2 separate regions of the Homo sapiens genome follow, and region 1 is linked to region 2. The links are contacts of gene promoters, found by promoter capture Hi-C in blood cells and fetal thymus (Javierre and others, 2016). All regions are on one chromosome and are shown on one strand. Each heading gives the region's core, a stretch centred on a gene start or on the middle of the fragment in contact. The rest is flanking DNA. Distances are from core to core; before and after follow the strand shown. Region 1 overlaps RB1CC1 (RB1 inducible coiled-coil 1). Region 2 holds the start of LYPLA1 (lysophospholipase 1).

Region 1 (3,452 bases), core at 881-3,380, 1.4 Mb before region 2:
TCAATTATCCCAGCCTTACTGTCAACTATTCTAATACAGTCAAAACTTAGAATTAGGCCAGACACAGTGGCTCCTGCCTGTAATCCCAGCACTTTGGGAGGCCGAGGTGGGTGGCTCACTTCAGGCCAGGAGTTCAAGACCAGCCTGGGAAACATGGTGAAACCCCGTCTCTACTAAGAATACAAGAATTAGTTGGCAGTGGTAGTGCATGCCTGTAATCCCACCTACTGGGAGGCTGAAGTGGGAGGATCATCTGAGCCCACGAGGCAGTGGTTGTAGTGAGCCTAGATCACACCATTGCCTGTCGCCTGCCTGGGCGACAAAGTAAGACTCTGCCTTAAAAAACAAAAACAAACAAACAAAACAGAATTCGCTTCCTTATATGATAAGGTGAAAGGGGGACACCCCAATGACAATCTCTGACCTTCAAAACTGGACACATTCATTATTCATCCACTATTTTGGGGGCATCTAAACATAAGCCAGACACTGCTAGGTGCCTGGAATACAAATATCTTCAAGATGCTTTCCAGCTGAATAGAACACATGAGACTCAGATAACCCTAAAGTGGACTAAAAGCTTCAGAGAAAAGATGATTGGAAATAATTTTGCCTGATCTCTAATTCTGTAAACTGCAATTATTAGCAATTCTCCCTCATTGAGGGGTCACGGGCTACTGCATCAATGGAGATAATGTCCACCACAAACGGAGTGTCTAGGTTGCCCAGGGACTGAAAACTGGGCATCAGTCTCCCCAAATCAGATGTATTCTAATCTGATCCTACCCCTTCTCTGCCAAGAAAAAGAATGAAAGATGAGTAGGTCAGGCATTTTCCTCACATTTCCCTGAAAGAAAACCTTTTTCATAAAAGTTCAGACTTCCTAAATATACGCCTTGTCTACAAACTAGACAAGCAACTTCGCCAAAAGAATGAAGCGAGCATTTAGAAAGGTAGTGCCCAAAGACAGCAAATGAGGTAAAAATAGCAGAACAGGAATACTTTTAAAACAAAAATGAAAAATACTTTGGAGTACACCCTTCAGGTTTTTTTCCCTAGGTGTACAGGAAATATGTGTATATTCAGGCAATATGGTTTTATAAAAATGAGGTGACACCCTACATACTACTATGGACTTTGCTTGAACTGCATAAAATAACAGAAATCTTTCTGTATCAGTACATATAAATGCATTACACATTTTGGTGTCCCTATCGTTTATAAAAACTACATAAAATGCATGATTTTAGTGAAAATTTTCTAGTTGTGTTTTATTTTATAACGGAAACTAACAGTAAAACCAAAATTATCTATATAGCAAATATAGAATTATATAAGACAGGGAAAATGGGGAAAAAAAAGAAAATGTAGAATTAGCTGCATTCTATTAAACCAAGATTATCTATAAACATATAACCAAATTATTAAACCAGCCTGCCCAAATCTGGTATTTGCAGTAAAACAATTACTAAAAGCCGTTATATTACTGTAATATAATATGGTATTGAATTAATATTTCAACAGGTATGCTGGACAGTTACTGAACAAGTATAATGTGTGGAATGTGAAGGAAAAATGAGTGGACAGTCTCAAATCAGTGACAAAAAAAGGAAATGGAACACAATTATTTTTATCTCCTAGCACAATTACAAGCCAATAAAATATGAGAGTTCAAAAGAGCAAACTAACGGGTAGAAAAAAATCATGGATGAAAAAAAATGGGCGAGGATTGTTATTCCACAATCCTCAAAGCACTCACTAAACAGCCATGAAAGCAGAAACAAATTAGCCAAGGAAAGAGGGTACTTGGAGGCATTCAAGTACTGCACTTACAAAAAGTAATCCAACAGAACCGGAACTTTACAAAGGGATAGAAAGAAATGCCATCCTCTCAGGACCCTAAACAATGGGGGTACAGTTTACAGTCAAATTAAGTTGATTTGGTCCATAATAAATAATCAGAGACAAGTAATCTTCACATCCTTTTATCTATGTGAGTTAAGCAAAAACTCATCAACCTAGCACTATACAATCGGCTTAGCTAGCCTTTTATCTACTCTACATCCTCAAAGTAATCTGCGTTTGTCATTTACCTCCATGAAAATTTCCAGTGGTTACCCATTTCCTATAAATAAATATATATACATAGACAGATATGTCTTTCTTGTTCACTGTTGCATTGCTGAAGCTAAAAGAGTATGCTGCAGGGGTTCAATTAGCATTTCAGGAATAAATGAAGTGAATTTGGCTTCAACTGCTTTCCAGCCATGCTGGGTTTACTTGAATTCATCTGTAGACCTTTGTGAGTTAGAGCACATTAGTTTCCTTACTATGACTTCCAAACCTGAATATGTAGAGCCCCACAATCTACCATTACTATCGCCTCTCTCATACCAGTCCAGCTTCAGTAACTTCATTTTTCTTGGTATATGCCATGTATATCAGAGCCTTTCCATTTACTGTTTCTTCTGCCAAAAATTCCTTTCGAGAGTCACACACTTACACCCCTTACTTCTCTTGGGCCTTTATTCAAAAGGCAATCAGTGGCCGGGCTTTGGGAGTCCGAGGCAGGCAGATCACCTGAGGTCAGGAGTTCAAGACCAGCCTGGCCAACATGGTAAAACCCCGTCTCTACTCAAGAACAATTACTTAAACATTTTTATGTTCCTCATGTAACTAGTTCAAAAACCTCACAGTGGTAAAAAGATAATAAAAGAATCGTGAAAGTGTGTTGAAAGGGACTGCTAGATTTTCAAAGTGTCTTAGGCCAGTATTACTACAAAAGAAAAGTGTAACTGGAGTCAGAAAATATCATTACCTGAATGAGAAAATTTTATCAGCCATTCTTTTAAAAAGATATTCATAAGACATACACATCTGCAAAGTAAAGCATGTAGGTGCTCAAATATCTGCTGAATGTATGATATAAAATTTTAAGTTAATATTAGAGTCTAAAAACTTTTCTCAGGCTAACATAATCAAAATTTAGGTTCAAAATTTCGAAAACAAAAGTCTTGTGTCTTCTGCCTTTATGAACTTGATTTGCTAAAGTAAATCTGCCATGCATCCTGATCTTGTGTTTGGCAGCAAGAGCCAAAAAAAAAAAAAAAAAAAACTCAGGGACAAAAGTACCGCTTCATTGTCTTCCCTGTCGTCCAATAACAAACATATAAAGGATTAGGTACATAAATAATCATATCTTGATTACCATAAAAAGTTCAAAATAGACTAAATAAAATTACTTTAAAAATATGAACTATGTCAATATCCACTTTCCATCAACAGAGGTTTCTCAACGTAAGCATTATGTGCCTAAAGCATCCCTGACATAAAACTTTATCCAGGTTTTGAACACAATCACAAACATTAAAAGACATGACAGGAATGTTATTGAGAAAATATCTTCATTAGGGCCATATTCTGTTACAACAAATATAAAAAGCGAACATATT
Region 2 (3,785 bases), core at 919-3,418:
GTTCAAGTGATTCTCTTCTCTCAGCCTCCCTAGCAGCTGGGATTACAGGCATGCACCACCACACCCGGGTAATTTTTATATTTTTAGTAGAGATGGGGTTTCACCATATTGGCCAAGCTGGTGTCGAACTCTTGACATCAAGTGAACTACCCACCTCGGCCTCCCAAAGTGCTGGGATTACAGGTGTGAGCCACCGCGCCCGGCCCCAATGGTTCATTTTAAAGAAAATTTAGTCGTTCTGGGGCTACTTTATCAAAATTTATTTATCTTCAGTTTTCCTCTATTTCTGCAATTTTTCAACAACATTCATATTTTGCTTAAGTTTCACAGATTATCACCAATTTAAATATAAAAACAAAAACATCTCAATATAGAAAAAGCTTGAGTAAAAGATAAATCATGTATCTAAAGTTAGTACAAAAGGCCAGGCTCAGGCAGCTCCCACCTCTAATCTCTGTGCTTTGAGAGGCTGAGGCTGAAGGATCACTTGAGCCCAGGAGTTCAAAGCTGCAGTGAGCTAAGATCCTGCAACTGCACTCCAGCCTGGGCGACAGAGAGAGCCCTTGTCTCTAAAAATAATAACAAAAGAAAAAAGCAAACAAACAAAAAATAAAATAAAAATAAGTAGTTAGTACAACAAATTGTTTGATAAGCCTCCAAATAAATCTTTGAGTTGCCTCCCCTGCCTTTCAACTCATTAGAGTGAACATCTAATCCCTCTATTCAGAATGCTGCATGCCTTATGTTGCCACTAGTTCTCTTATCAAAATCAACTAGTTCTTCTCTTCAATCTGCTCTGAAATTTTAACTGCTCTGGAAAGCTCTCAATTGCACACCGTCCCTACTAACATTCCACGGATCTCTGGTATCCAATACCCAAAGCAACTAATGAGGAATTTGAAATTTTAATATGTTCCAGAAACCAGAGTTAAAAAATCAATAAACTCACGATGATAAGGGGAAAATTCTGAGGGTTTTCAAAACATAAAATCACCGCACTGTAAGATACATTAACTGGCAATCTTAAAATACCATTTTAGCGCCCTTAAACATTAAACCTTTGAACGCGTAAACAAAAGTTGCATGACCCAGTTTCATTACTGTTACTATTAATAATAATGGTACCTACCCAGTATCTCCCAATCCATGCAGGAAAATCACCTATAAGAGAAGAGGAAAATTAATAAGCAATGCCTAAATAAGCCCACACAGGATTGTTACACACTAGCTTTGCTTAAGGTGGAAAACGGAACGAAACCTACGAGAGAATTACACAACACTATCTTCGGCGACTTAATCTTTATCGACCTCTTTTAAATGGCAAAAATTCTGATCAACTTCTCCCTTTATTTCCTGAGATAATGAATGGGGGGGGGGTAGCACTGAGAGGTCCCAGTTAGACATTGAGTGCAAATGATCACATTCTAAGAAAAACAGTTTATCTCTTTCAAGTGAAATCAGGAACATCTCACATATCCTGTAGAATTTTTCCACTGCAAAAGCAAGCTTCCGGAGGCAAAAATAAGTTTGACTTTTCATACACGAGTTTTCTAAAAAACAGTACGTCTGACCTTGTAGGACACTCAATCTTCAAACTTCTTTCATTGAGGATAAGAGTGCGAGGTGACAATAAGGCGATTTCCTGGCGGACTTAGGTTTCCCTCACCCACACACCAGGCAGAAACACGCTGCAGAGGCTGACGCCGTGCCCTAGGCCGGCCCGCGGGGGTCCCGGGGCCACACTTCCTCCGCAATGCAGGGAGGAGCTGGGGACTGGCCCTCGCGCCGGCTGTGACCCCCCGGCTGCCCCCGCCCCCCGCGGACCCGGCCGCGCGGACCATTCGCACCCCACCCGGGCCGGGAGGAGCGTCCTCGTCCGCAGGCCGCCACGCGCCCGCAACGCCCACCCCGCGCGAGGGGCAACCACCGGTGGCCGGCCCAGTGGACCCCTCCGAGCCCACGCCTACGCCACTCACCGCAGCGGTGGCCTTCCGGGCGGCGGGCACGATGGCGGGCAGCGGGGTTGACATGTTATTGCCGCACATACACCGCCTCAGCTCACAGCGCAAGCGGAAGGAAGAGCGGGCGCCCGGCCGCGGCCCAAGGGCGTGCGAGCGGCGAGTCCCGGCCGGCCCCACCGGGCGCACGCTCAGGCGCGTGCGCGCCAACGCGGCCCCGCGCTACCTTCCGCGCGCGCCCGCGCGTCCAGGGTCCGCCCTGCCCTGCCCCTCGCCCGCCGCCCCTCCCTCGGCACCTCACAATGTCCGGGCGGCTCCCTCCCTCCGATTGGCTGCGGCGGCAGCGCGGACCTGGCTGCGCTTTCGCCACACCACGCAGCCTGCGCATGCTCAGTGCTGGCTAGGGAAAATGTGCTCTCAGGTGCAGGCTGAGGGCTGGTCTCTTGGGTCTTGGTTTAGGTTTTTGCTTTTCTGGCGCTGTAGTGAAAAGAATGAGCCCCAGAGCCAATTCACCCAACCCAACCCCAGGTGCTCCTTGGTTTCCTGCGGCCGGGGTCTATCCATTTGTAAAAGTCTGGATGGACTGGGAGACGTTGATGGAGCTTTTGCAGTATTTCCGTTTGGGGCTACAGCAGTATGTAGATTTGGGTTCAACTTACCTTCTTTAAACTTTAGTTGGAAAGGGTAACATTTGTCACCAGAAATCCACTACTTCCCTAACTTGATCGACAACACTTACTGATGTACGGATATTGACACAGTACAGGTTTAAGTGAGAGGTAAAGCCAGCTGGTCTTCTGGGTCGGTTGGGGACTTGGAGAACTTTTCTGTCTTACAAGAGGATTGTAAAATGTACCAACAGCACTCTGTAGCTAGGATTGTAAAATGCACCAATCAGCACTTTGTGGCTAGCTAGAGGTTTGTAAAATGCACCAATCAGTACCCTGTAAAACGGGCTAATCAGTGTTCTGTAAAGTGGACCAATCCGCAGGACTTGGGCCGGGACAAATAAGGAAATAAAAGCTGGCCACGCCCCCCATCCCCTAGCTGGCAGTGGCAGCCCTGGGTCCCCTTCCACACTGTGGAAAGTTTGTTCTTTCACTCTTCACAATAAATCTTGCTGCTGCTGCTCACTCTTTGGGTCTGTGGGACCTTTAAGAGCTGTAACACTCCCAGCACTTTGGGAGGCCGAGGCGGGTGGATCAGGAGGTCAGGTGATCGAGACCATCCTGCCTTAACACGGTGAGACCTCGTCTCTACTAAAAATACAAAAAAAAAAAATTGGCCGGTCGTGTAGTCCAAGCTACTTGGGAGGCTGAGGCAGGGGAATGGCGTGAACCTGAGAGGCAGAGCTTGTAGTGACCTGAGATCGCGTCACTGCACTCCAGCCTGGGAGACAGAGAGAGACCTTGTCTCAAAAAAAAAAAAAAAAAAAAAAAAAAACTGTAACACTCACCACGAAGGTGACAAGCTTTATTCTTGAAGTCAGCGAGACCATGAACCCACCGGAAGGAACCAACTCTGGACACATAAGCATGAGACTAGACTGCCCTTTTCTGCACAGGTGCCTTTATGGCCTAAAATGTAGTTACTCAACAAATGTGTTGCATATCAACTACATGGTAAGATCTGGAAGAGAGCACAAGATAGAAACACTTAAAGCCAAAATGCCCTGACCTTCAGAAGTTTACAATTCAGTGAAGGACATACTGGAGGCCGGGCGCAGTGGCTCAAACCTGTAATCCCAGCACTTTGGGAGGCCGAGGTGGGCGGATCACGAGGTCAGGAGATTGAGACCATCCTGGCTCACACGGTGAAAACCCGTCT

What was found. Contacts are between HindIII fragments. The CHiCAGO score rates a contact against its expected background, and 5 or more counts as called.
Region 1: a contact is called between a fragment that was not itself captured here and the fragment with the promoter of LYPLA1 in region 2, in 5 of 17 cell types (fetal thymus, total CD8 T cells, activated CD4 T cells and 2 more). The highest score is 12.5, in fetal thymus.

The regions. Positions count from the first base shown.
Region 1 is chr8:52,709,402-52,712,853 of GRCh38, forward strand. The region is part of intron 1 of RB1CC1 (RB1 inducible coiled-coil 1); the gene reads right to left. Among named protein-coding and RNA genes, the nearest start is that of RB1CC1, 3.3 kb to the right of the region's middle. The HindIII fragment of the contact is 3,105 bases long and covers 579-3,452 here.
Region 2 is chr8:54,099,779-54,103,563 of GRCh38, forward strand. It overlaps LYPLA1 (lysophospholipase 1), which reads right to left and starts at 2,169. Exons shown (of 9, transcript NM_006330.4): 1 at 1,977-2,169; 2 at 1,130-1,161. The coding sequence starts at 2,045. It overlaps LYPLA1-TCEA1 (LYPLA1-TCEA1 readthrough), which reads right to left and starts at 2,169. Exons shown (of 21, transcript NM_001425842.1): 1 at 1,977-2,169; 2 at 1,130-1,161. RefSeq lists a silencer at 1,723-2,292. The HindIII fragment of the contact is 1,923 bases long and covers 1,505-3,427 here.